Regions from separate parts of the Homo sapiens genome. Here all the other regions are linked to region 2. Evidence: promoter capture Hi-C in 16 types of primary human blood cells and fetal thymus (Javierre and others, 2016). All regions are on one chromosome and are shown on one strand. Each heading gives the region's core, a stretch centred on a gene start or on the middle of the fragment in contact. The rest is flanking DNA. Distances are from core to core; before and after follow the strand shown.

Evidence for each region. The method cuts DNA at HindIII sites, captures the fragments that hold promoters and counts their contacts. A CHiCAGO score of 5 or more calls a contact.
Region 1: a contact is called between a fragment that was not itself captured here and the fragment with the promoter of IKZF5 in region 2, in 3 of 17 cell types (total CD8 T cells, neutrophils and total CD4 T cells). The highest score is 5.8, in total CD8 T cells.
Region 3: the fragment with the promoter of FANK1 here is called in contact with the fragment with the promoter of IKZF5 in region 2 in 1 of 17 cell types (monocytes); the score reaches 7.2 in monocytes.
Region 4: a contact is called between a fragment that was not itself captured here and the fragment with the promoter of IKZF5 in region 2, in 4 of 17 cell types (neutrophils, monocytes, total B cells and 1 more). The highest score is 17.5, in neutrophils.

Annotation. Positions count from the first base shown.
Region 1 is chr10:125,729,033-125,731,950 of GRCh38, forward strand. It overlaps EDRF1 (erythroid differentiation regulatory factor 1), which reads left to right. Exons shown (of 25, transcript NM_001202438.2): 7 at 1-72; 8 at 326-447; 9 at 1,256-1,367. Among named protein-coding and RNA genes, the nearest start is that of EDRF1, 11 kb to the left of the region's middle. The HindIII fragment of the contact is 1,114 bases long and covers 1,062-2,175 here.
Region 2 is chr10:123,007,497-123,010,545 of GRCh38, forward strand. It overlaps IKZF5 (IKAROS family zinc finger 5), which reads right to left and starts at 1,299. Exons shown (of 5, transcript NM_001372123.1): 1 at 1,198-1,299. It overlaps ACADSB (acyl-CoA dehydrogenase short/branched chain), which reads left to right and starts at 1,510. Exons shown (of 11, transcript NM_001609.4): 1 at 1,510-1,575. The coding sequence starts at 1,534. RefSeq lists enhancers at 576-805, 1,086-1,415. The HindIII fragment of the contact is 4,856 bases long and covers 16-3,049 here.
Region 3 is chr10:125,895,052-125,897,957 of GRCh38, forward strand. FANK1 (fibronectin type III and ankyrin repeat domains 1) reads left to right here and starts at 1,513. Exons shown (of 11, transcript NM_145235.5): 1 at 1,513-1,604. The coding sequence starts at 1,592. It also overlaps a transcript of DHX32 not described here. RefSeq lists silencers at 1,018-1,097, 1,318-1,397, 1,558-1,697, 1,789-2,083. The HindIII fragment of the contact is 2,086 bases long and covers 520-2,605 here.
Region 4 is chr10:125,828,248-125,831,137 of GRCh38, forward strand. BCCIP (BRCA2 and CDKN1A interacting protein) reads left to right here. Exons shown (of 7, transcript NM_078468.3): 4 at 2,315-2,404. Among named protein-coding and RNA genes, the nearest start is that of BCCIP, 6.1 kb to the left of the region's middle. The HindIII fragment of the contact is 3,325 bases long and covers 1-2,890 here.

The sequences.
Region 1 (2,918 bases), core at 369-2,868, 2.7 Mb after region 2:
GTGGGGCATGTGGCCTCAGCCCCCAAAGAACAAAACCTGATTACTTTATTCAATGACGGGGAGCACAGTCAGGTATGCTTTCCATGGTGTCCAAGGTGACAGCAAATCCCCAGTCTACTTTGTCATTTCAAAACTAGCCTAAGTCGAAATTGATAGGGAAAAACTCCACTTGATCCTGAAACTGCTTTCTAAGCATCTTTGTGATCTTAGCTCTGGGGCCTGACTTTGTCTTCTTTGTCTCTTCCTTTTTCTAGTCTTTTTATGGATCATGGGGGGAAATTACAGATTGACTGTTTATTATAATCCTCCCTATTTTAAATCACAGGGTCTTAAAAATGATTTTGTTCGGAATATTCTATGGACATTTGAAGATATCCATATGTTGGTCGGCTCCAACATGCCCATATTTGGAGGAGGCAGATACCCAGCAGTCAGCTTACGTCTCAGGTGAACTAACATCATACCCCTCCTCAAGCTTATGGTATTTAAATTCTTCCTTTAGAATCAGTGTTCCATCAGACTGAGGTTGCAGTGAGCCAAGATCATGCTACCGCACTCCAGCCTAGGCGAAAGAGCAAGACTCGTCTCAAAAAAGAATCAGTGTTCCATCTATTTGGGCATCTTCCTCTTTCTCTAGGTTTTTTCCCCTCCCTCCTTCCCCTGCCAGTTGAAATGGCCACATTAAGGAAGGAGCTACTGTCAGCAGATGCTGAAAGGCAGGCCTATAGCTGAGTCTTCATTCTAGACCTCATTGAATAGAGCCAGAGGTTTGTTGGACTGGCCTAGTCTTAGGTCTGAATCTACAACTTGTGAGAATATTCAAGAGAGTTTATTTAATTAGTTAGATTCCTACTAACTACTTGTGAGCATTTTTCTTAATGCTCCACGTGTATTTGTTGATATTAGCCAATGTGAATTCCAACTTAAGCATGGTCTTGTATGGTGTTCAGTCTTTCTTCAAGTTGTGTGTGAGGAGCAGGCAGTAGGCTCACCGTCCTTTCCTATTATATTGTCTTCTATTCTTACTGAAAACTTACCAATGTCAGTTAGAAATACAAGCAAGCTTTTGGAAAGATGTTAAATATAGCACAACCACTGAGCTGCATGTGCATATCTTATCAGAAAAGAAAGCATAGATGGCATTTTCTATCTAGAGAGGACAGCTTAAGATACTTAAATGGTGAAATAACTTTCAGATGATTAATTAAGGAACATCTTAATTAAACCAAATAACACTAGAAATGTATATTTTTAGGGATAACAACAAACCAATTAATGTGCTAACTGGAATTGACTATTGGTTGGACAACTTGATATGCAATGTGCCAGAGCTTGTGATGTGTTTTCATGTAAATGGAATTGTACAGGTAAGATACAGTGTGATTTTTCTGATCTCTCAAATGCAAATTGGTACAGAGAGTTCCTCACCAAAGTCTTTACGGCCCTGAAGTACTAAGGTGCATTTTTGCCAGGGAAGATAGCTGTGAATAAACTGAATTTGAGTGTACATTTAAGTTGGTGATAACAGAATTGTAGATGTTATAGAAGTATAATTTTACAGGTAATTTGGAGGAAGTTCATAAATATATGAAAACCTGCATTTGTAGCCATAGAACTCTAATTTTAATGCCAAGCTCTCATTAATAATTAACTGAAAGTGTCTACACAATGGAGGCGTTTCTTCGTTATGCAAATATCTACTCAGTACATGCAAAGTTTTAGGGAAAGGTCTTGTAAAAATTGCATATGGTGGATAGCTTATATAGCAAATTCTTATTGAGCATATTCTGTTTAGAAGACACGTATCCCCATTATAAGTGTTGGGGGAAGCTAGGCGTGTTGGCTTATTCCTGTAATCCCAAGCTACTCAGGAGACTGAGGCAGCAGGATCACTTGAAGCCGAGAGTTCAAGACCAACCTGGGCAACGTAGTGAGACCCTAATTGTAGAAAAACAACGCACACACTTAGTTGGGCATGGTGGTACATGTCTGTAGTCCCAGCTACTTGGGGGCTTGAAGCAGGAGGATCACTTGAGCCCAGGAGTTTGAGGCTGCAGTGAGCTATGATCGTGCCACTGCACTCCAGTATGAGTGACAGAGCAAGACCCTGTCTCAAAAAAATAAAAAAATTGAGAATTTAAACAATAAATAATTGTTGAAGGAAAACAAAGAATAAGCTTGGTTGTTATTCAGAAAGAGATAATCTAATGGGAAATAATATGCAGAGAGAACAGTAGGAGACAGATAAGAATTAGAAGTGTAGCACACAGAAATCTAGATCATCAGAGAAGGGGGTGAGCACTTCCATTCAGGTCTGGAGGAAAGACTTTGTGGAAGAAGGGACATCTTAACTGAGTCCTGAATGATAGCTAGTATCTCAAAAAATAAGAGCTGGATTTTAAAAGTCTAGTGTAAATACATGAAAGGATTGATAATAAATCCAGCTAGGGAACACAGGATTTATGTAGCAGAATAGCTGCAAGTAAGGTTGGAAAAGTCATGGTCAAATGATGGAGATCTTAAATGTTGAGCTAAGGAGTATGGACTTGGTTCAGTTGGTAATCTGGAATCAGAAGGCTTTGCATCTAGGAGGGGAAATTTGTTGTGTTAGAATATTAATTTAGAGATAGCATATAGGACAGAAAAGGAGGACTTAGAGACAAGAAAACCAGAGGCATTGTACCATTTTGCAGATAGTGTAATGTACTTTCCACTAGAGAGGAACTATTAAGAATCAACAATGGTAAGAATAGATAGCATTTATTGAGTGCTTATTTTATCCAAGCACTTTGCTGAATGCTTTAAATGCTTTACCTTATTTGATCTTCTTAGCTACCTCACATGCTGTTATTCCTATTTGATGGAAAGAGAGACTGAGGATCAAGGAGCTCAAGTGAGTTGCCCAGGGTCAACTTAGT
Region 2 (3,049 bases), core at 49-2,548:
CTTCCAAAACGGTCAAGCTTAGTACTGCTGAACAGCTGTAGTTGCATAAAAACAACGCATAGTCCTAAGTAGGGAAATGGGAAAGGGCTTTAAATACAAAAACAAAAAAAACATGCACACCCGATAAGGGCACATCTGAATCCCATCCTTCTTATCCTATCATAACACAAAACAGCTACGGTTTTCTGGGAAACATCCTGGACCGCTAGGGGAAAATAACACCAGACATTTCAATTCACTGTAACGAACTCTCATCAATAATAATAACCTTTAGCTGTTGTGACAACACGACATAAATCAAAATTAAATTGAATTTTTAAAATTGTTAGTTCCTACGTTTAAAAAAAAGTTGTTTTAAATACATTCTGTTCTTTCAAAACTGAATTTCCTCAGATCACACAATTTAAGACGCCTTTATGTCTTCTTCCGCTTGTCACACGTCTTTCGGGTTCTGACCAGCACATCAAGGGGACTCTAAGCAGGCCACGTGGTTAGTGTTTGCTAGAACTTGTTTAGCTTCAGATCCAGTCATCGAGCATGCTAGGCTTGGCTACTCGCGCTCCACACAGTTTATCCAAAGATCTAAACCCCGAATGAACCTGAATAGTTATTTGCTACAATGTCTTTCTCAAATCTCACATGTTCCTAAAATAAGGGTGCCCATGCAGTAGAGACGGATCCGGGCAGGATCATTAGATAAAATACGAAGGCTTTAAACGTCCTTCTCCCAACAATCAGCCTGGGACCGGCGTCGGGGCAGCAGCCTCACCAAGATTCGGAGCGACATCCTCGCCAGGATTCGAAACACCTAGGAGACCCGCGCCCGGCTGACTCCCAGCCCCTGGGACCCCGTGAAGACGCAAACCTCGGGACGCCTCCCGCAGAACCACCTGTCAGAGCCAAGCAACAGTCCCCGCCCCGGAGCCTCCGAGCTCCTGCTCGAAGGCAATGACAGCAGGAGACCCCGCTCCCTCGGGGTTCTCGCGGCCATAGGCGCCGCAGTCCACTGCCCTCCGGCTAAAGAGGTCCCGGGCCATCACCTGCCCGCCTACCGACCACGCCCGACCCTCCACTGAACTGAGTCTCCGTCCGGATCAGCCGGCCCGCCACGAACCCAGCTCCAGTCTCCGGCCGCTCCTTCTTATCCGCCCTGTCCTGCCGCGTCGCCGCCGTCCGAGCCGGCAGCCTGCTACTTACCTCCTGACAACTGCATGGAGTAAACCACACCGCCTTGTTAAATGCCGTCGCCGCCGCCGCCGTCTTCGTCACCGTCACAGTCGCCGCCGCCATCTTTGTTGTGTCTCCGACTCCCTTCCCGCCCCCCTGCCTTGCTCAAGTCTCGCGTGAGCAGGATGGAGGGCGAAAGCGAGGAGGGGCCTGTTTGTCTCTCTTGGGGTTCCGTAGGCAGCAGGGGGCAGGGATTAAGGGGGGGTGTGTGCGGGGCGGGTACTGAGTGGGCGGGGCCTTGCTCGGGTAACTCCCAGGGGCTGGCTAGAGACCCAGAGGCGCAGAGCGGAGAGGCCTGCGGCGAGGATGGAGGGCCTGGCAGTGCGGTTGCTGCGCGGCAGCAGGCTGGTGAGTGCGTTCGAGGCTGGCGTCCTGGGGGCCCAGGGCGACCTTGGCCCCTGGAATCGCAGCTGGCAGAGCCTTCTAACGGGCCTCGGGGCGCCGGCCTGAGCCCCGCTCCACGTCCTGGGTCCCCAGACTCTTTACCCGCGGGCAGTCTATGACCCCGACCCCCTTCAGGCCTCTGGTGGAGGCAGCTGGTGGCAAGGGGGTCGGGGCTGTCTAGAAGCTGCTTTGGCGGAGCAAGTACCTTGAGTGGAGTCGGAGGGTCGCGTCCGCAAGATGTCCTTTGCAGGCCGTTGCGTCCTGAGAGCCACCGAGTCTGGATCTCTGGATCTCTGGATGCATTTTGCACAGATGTCACCTCCCTGATGCCCTAACGCACCTTTCCCGAGTGATTACATTTCACACCCCCTCCCCCAAAAAAGATAGTTAAAATATAGGCCCAGTCTCATTCTGAGCAGGTGTCTCCCTGTCCTTCCTTCCGCGGCCCCGCTCAAAGGTAGTAAGGGACTTCGGAGTTGTTCGGGCTTCCCGGCCAGGGACAGAGTTCCCTCTGCCCCTTATCTCATGTCTGGAGCCTGGGTATCTTCCGTGGATAGACTCACCGCCGCCCAGGGGAGCCGGAGCCGGTGCCGGTCCCTCTTCCATGAACTTAAGCTGAAACCAGCCTCTTGTTGTGCTTAATTCTTATCTGTGCACCCACACAAACTGTTAACAGCCCCTGTGTTAACATCCTATGCTCTTCACCCCTTGGACCTATTATATAGCATGCTTTTCAGAACATACACATTTGGATACACTTGTATTTGTCAGTACACTTCACTGGGAATTTTCCCACTGCTTACGTGTGCTTTTAATGTTTCCTTTGCATTTGCTTTAATGAGTTAGGCTTTCCAACTGCTGCTTCAGTCTTATGCCCAGAGGCAGAACTCTGACCCTTTTTCTTATTAGAGATAATTAATGTTATTTGACTGTTTTACAGGCCTGAAGTGCAATAAAAAACAGTAAGTGATTATTGTTTAATACTGTTTATAATTGTTGGTTAATAACTTAGCAAAGAAAATTTCTTTGGTTTTACAATTTGACTCTGTTTTAGAGCCAAAATTTATTGACCGCATACTCTGTGGTAGGCACGTTCTCGTTCTACCTGAGTCATCTCAATTCTCACAACCATCTTAACAAGTAGTTTAATCTTGCAGATGCTGAAAAAGAATAATAGCTTGCCCACAGATAGAAAGGGATAGAGCTGGTGGTATTCGAACTCTGGTCTGATTCTAAACTTAACCTTCATATACTACTGTCTCCCCGTCCTTAGAGATATCAAAAACCTATTTTGTTTGAACTTTTGGTTTATTGTGGCTTATAGTCCTTTATAGTTTTTGAAGCTCTTTTACATAAATTAGCTAAATTGATTGAACATCGACTGTAGCATAGTGGTTAAGAACGTAGGTTCTGTAGCTAGGCTGCTTGGATCTGAACC
Region 3 (2,906 bases), core at 263-2,762, 2.9 Mb after region 2:
CTGCTTGTCAATATCCACACATAAACCTTCTTGTTTTGACAATTAATCTGAAAAAGTCCCCATATAGTCTGAGAGGGGGAAAACCTAATTTGGAAGAATATAATAAATGTCAGTTTCCATCACAGAATATATGCTTCTCAAGTTCAATTAACCTCTCAATGATTCCCTAAGAGGAAAGTAATTCTCCTTAGTGTCCTTGTCATCCATGGAGTGGAAATCTTTCTACTGGCAAGATTAGTAATCACTTCCATGACCCCCAAAACGGCTCTTCCTTCCATTTCCCTCAAGTACTGTCTGGAGCAGCGGTTGGAATTAATAGAGGGGCCATAATCTCCAGACCTGAATACCAAATCAATCCTGCAGCCCCCCACACCCTTAATGCCCCTGCACTTTCTTGCTTATCCTTTTTCTCTCGTCTCCATTTTTCTTTCCTCCTTCTGGTGTTCCGGAACCTATGATACTCTCCTGGTTGTTTGAATTTTTACAACCTACCAGATAATAATCTCTTGTGATCCTCAAAGCTTCCTTAAAGCAAACCCTGAATCACTGTGTTTTAAAACCAGTATGAAAGACTATTGTGTGGGATAATGTTACATTGTTTCACAGCCCTACAAAGTTTGGCCACAAAACGTGTGGGCAGATTCCGTAACTCAACCGGAAACGCGAAGGACTGAAACAAATCAACACACAAAAAACGAAGCCAGCGAGAAAGATCCAACCCGGGCCCCCTGCCTGAAATGGGACACGGGGATGACGGGGCAAAGCCGGGCAAAACCGTGCTCCTGGCTCTCGCGATTCAGGAGACGCGCCAGGCTCACTGGGGACGACAGCGACGACGGCGGCGGCTCGCATTGCTCCACGCTTCCCGTCAGGGGGGCTCGAGGGACCGCCCCAGGCCCGGCCCATGCCCGGGCTCGGAGGGAGCCCCTGGTGCGAGGGCTGCCCGCAGGGCTCCGTCCTCCCGCTGAGGCGCGGCTCCCGGAGCAGGAGGCGCGGAGGCCGCCCTCGGCGTTTCGGAGTCGGGGCGGGGAACGTCCACGGCCAACTGCGGGCAGGGGACCCCCAGGCGGCTACAACAGGTGCGCCGGGGCCGCCCACCCGGCTCGGGGCGCGCCCGCCCCTGCGCCGACCCCCGACCCCTTCCGCCGCCGGGGCCCCGCTGTTACCTGCAGCGGCGGCTCCCGATTCCCGGGAGGGCGGCCCAGGGCCGGCGCCTTACCCGCGGGCAGGCCCACTCGCCCGACGGACGCCGCGGGTCGGCGACAGCGGGGACCGCGGGTCGGCGACGTCGGGGCACAGGTCCTGCGGGGCCGCGGGGGCCGCCAGGGAGGGCGCGACCGCCTGACCGGGCTTCAGGAGCAGTGTCCTCAGCCGGTGACCTGGCCGCTACCCTCGCTCAGTGTCCCCGGCGACGCGCGGGTCCTCACGCGCTCCCTCACTTCCTGCGGCTTTTGGTCCCTCCCGCTCGCCGTCCCTTTAGTTCTGCCCACTTCGCCTCCGGGTTGTCAGGGCAACCGTAGCGACGCCGGCCCTGGCTGAGAGGCGTTAGGAGTCCGGGGGTTCGCCCGCGGAGGCCGGGGAGCAGCCGACCATGGAGCCCCAGAGTAAGGGAGGCCCGGGCTGGAGCTGGGACCGGGGCGGGCGACCGGGCTGGGGCTCCCCGGGAACGAGTGTGGGCGCCCCGCGCGCGACTCCGCAGGTTTCAACGCTCGGACACGGAAATACGGTTTGCGTCTCCTCGCGCTTTTCTCTCCTGGAGAGGGGAGAAGGGGGCTACATCCTGCCAAGTCTGTATGGTTGGGCCGCCGGCGCCCTAGAGTCCGCGCTGGGGGCTGGGAGCGACTGGAGAGCCCCGAGGTATGGGTGGGGAAGGGCGCAGCGACCCCAGCGTGCGTCTTCCTGAAACTTCGCCCGGACGGTTCCATTTACTCCTCCTCCTACTCATGATTTTAGTTTGGTAGTTTGGTTCATTAATTGTAAGTAGCCCATTTTTCTTCTAAAATGTCAGCAATTAAACACGTCCGAGGCTGGGTCTTGTATTTATTAGAGACCCCGTCTTACTCCCCGCCCCCCGCCCCACACCCCTAGTCTGCGACTTGAAGGAGAGAGAGAGAAAAGAAGAGCTTTGTCCAAGTGTATTTGATTCATTCTTAGGGGTTCTACAAGTTAGGACACTCAAAAAATGTTTGTAATCTCTTTTTCTGTTTTCCCATGTTGCTTTCGATGTATGGCAAAAGTTGTGCAGTTTTGAGTTATCAGATCTAAACACGAGCTCTAACTTACTATTTTTGTTGTTGTTTTTACCTTTCCAGGGACTTTGTTTCAAGGCCTTTCTTTCTCTGCCCCGCCTAAGCTGTCTTATTGTTCCTTTTGTTCTCAAAATAAGGGGAGTGTTTTGTATGGAGACTTAAAATTTATCTAAAACCTTTATAGAAGGATGCAGTTTGACTCTCAAACCAAGTCGTCTTATCTTGTACAATTTCAGAAATGAAGAACTCAGACCAAATCTATTCTCTGGGGAAAATGTTGGCATTTTTAAAGGTCATTCGTTTTCCACCAAGAAAGTTTCAAATACTTTTCCTTTTAACTCATTTGCTGAGGAGAAAGCTTGCAAGTTGTGACTTATAGTTGCTTGATAGATTTTGTACAGTATTTGTCATTTGCATTTACAGCTCTTTGGATTCTACATTTTTTTAACCTAGTAAAAGAAATTTAGCATACAAGAACGCTAAAATTTTTGTTTTATGTCAAACTGATGGCAGGCTGTGTATATTCCCGCCTTAGAGAAGTGAGTTGAAATATACCTTTTAAAAACAGCAACTTGGCCTGGCCCGGTGGCTCACGCCTGTAATCCCAGCACTTTGGGAGGCTGAGGCAGGCGGATCACGAGGTCAGGAGATTGAGAC
Region 4 (2,890 bases), core at 239-2,738, 2.8 Mb after region 2:
AACAAACATGGAGGAAGGTCAAATTAGGAGGGGGAATGTGAATTTGGATTTGTACATTTTGAGTTTGAGTTACCTGTGAGATACCGGGTAGCAGGTGGAGCCCTGGAGACTTGGGAGTTGGTCGTAAATGTTACTGAGGTCGTAGAAGTGATTGAGATTGCGCAGGGAGGGAAGGGACAGACACCTTAGTAATACCAAGAATACTTCGATGAGTAATATAAGTGGCAGAGCCAGCAAAGGAGATTAAAAGGGATGACAGGAGAAGTAGAAGAAACAATAGTGCAGTGATGTCATACACAGCAAGAAAGATAACATTTGAAGGAGGAGGGGATGGTCATCTTTATCAGATAGATGTTGTAGAGAGCTCAACAAAATAAGGACTGGTTTAGACCCTGGGTCTGCTGCTTATCATCTGGTGGTTCTTTGGGTTATCTGTTGTTTGTATAACAAACCACCCCATAGCTTAGTGTCGTAAAATAGCAGTAGTCATTTATTTGGCTAATGGATCTACAGTTTGGACAGAGCTCAGTGGGCACAACTCATCTGTGCTCCTGCTCCATCATGTTAGCTGGGGTGGCTTGACTAGGGGCTGGAGGATTCCCTTTCAAGATGGCTCACTCACATGACTGGCAAGTTAGCCCTAGCTGTCTGTCGGGAGCTTAGCTGGGACTCTGGACCAGGGGCCTTAGTTCTTCTCCATGTGGGCCTCGTCACACATTGGTTTGCTTCCAAGAGCAAGCTGCCCAAAAGAAGCAGGCAGAAGTGATATAGTGCCATTTCCACCATTTGCTTAGTCTTTACAGATAGAAATTTCTATCTAGGGGGAGGGCACATTGATCCCACCACTCCATGAGAAAAGTACCTAGGTCACTTTGTCAGAAGAGCATGTCCAAGGAGAGATCCATTGGGGCCATCTGTGAAAGATACAGTCTGCCACAGTACCTTAATCTGTTTCCATTTCTGTCTCTGAAAATGAGGATGGTACTAGCACCGATCTTGTAGAGTGCATGGGTAAACAAAATGAATTGCTGACTGCTTAAAACAGTGTCTGGCAGCTGACATGTGCTACATATGTGTAGCTGTCACTGTTGATGTCTTTTTCCTGTTCCTAGCACCTGTTCCCTAGCCTGTTGTGAAAAACACAACAAACAAAAGCTCCATTCAGTCTAATGTTCCACTCTTAAGTACATCACCTTCAGAGCCAAAATTCTTGAAAAGTAATCTTAAGTCATGGTTTCTACTTCCTGTCCTCCTATTCATTCTTCAGACACTCTTATCTGACTTTTACACCACTAAAATTCGGACACTGAGTGATAGGGTCACCAACATACTTGTTACTAAATACAGTGTACACTTTTCAAGGCTTCTGACAATATTAGTAACTTTATGGCACTCAATGTAAAGAAAATGAGAAATTAAACCTATGGGGCATTCCTTTTATTAGGGCAATGGGAAAAAGCAGACCACCTGCCCTTTCATCAAATAAATGTGATCTCTAGCTGATTCGTGTCTTAGAAGACCTAATGGATATGGAGGAGAAGCAGTTATTTTTATCCTTGAAAGAGGTTATTATCTAATGGCAGGATTCACTCTTTAAATGGATAATCACATCAATAGCTCTGCAGTTGTAACTGTGGCTTCTTGGGATTCTCCAGAGACACTTGAGGTGTCCTGAGGATAGAGACTTCTTGTTCTTAGTAAAGGGACTACCCATAGTGTTCGGTGGAGCCAGTCCCTAGGATCATAGAACAAAGGGCAGGGGGTTCTCTTTTTTCCCCTTCTCTCTTGCTAATGTGATAGGTGTAAGTGGCCCTCAAGCATTGCCTAGCTTCACTAATGGTCAAGACTGACAAGTGTTCTGGAAACTCATGAGTTTTAGATGAAACAATGCTGTGGGCCAGCAGAGAAGCAAGGCTTGGCTCCAGCCTAATTGTGTAGAAAACAAATGAAAATGCTTTATTTCATGAGGTTTATCTCTTCTGGATTTGTATTATATTGAGAATCTGATAAAAGAAAATGACTTAATCTGGTACAAAGAAATTTCAATCTGTTCAGAATCTGAAAAGAGGAACAGAGTCGAGGTAAAGCGAAATGAACAAGGTCACACAGTATTTAAGATACAATGCTTTCCAAGATGATGGTGGTAAAACTGTGACAGTATTTAAAATACAATGCTTTCTAAGATGGCGGTGGTAAAACAAAGTTTTGCTTTTGAAAAGTGAAAAGATAAATGAGGCCTACATCCCAAGACTTGGTTTTATACTCTTGGTATTATACTAAATATAACATTTAAATATTTTTTCTTTTAAAATAGCAAACGGATGTTTCAGAAGACAGCAATGATGATATGGATGAAGATGAGGTTTTTGGTTTCATAAGCCTTTTAAATTTAACTGAAAGAAAGGTTGGTTTCACTGGATGGCATCTGAATGGTTATTTCTTAGGCCAAAACCACTTTTATTTAATGCATGGTGAAAATGTCTTTTATGTTAAACAGTGATATTAACTATAGGGATAAGTGCTCTTGTGAAATCTTATTGTAATCCTTTTTCAATATGAAGGTGGTGGTGTTGGGTCTGTACCCAGTTAAAGTTGTTTACTCCCTGTGGTTTAGGGAATCATCTGGCTTTGCAGTCCTGATGTTGGTACTGATGCAGGAGCTGTTTGTGCTGTCTCTCTGCAGCTGTTATCTTTGCTACTTGTGTAGTGGGGATATTCTCAGGCTTTGCTGCCTCAATGTTGAGGGCATTTACTGACATTTTATTTTGTTTCGATTCATCTCTTTTTATTGATTCTCTGATGAGTTGTAATAAAAAGTAAACCAGCTGCTTACCCACCTCAGAATAAGATGCAGGCTACACTTAGTCTTTAATTTTGAAATAAACTGTCC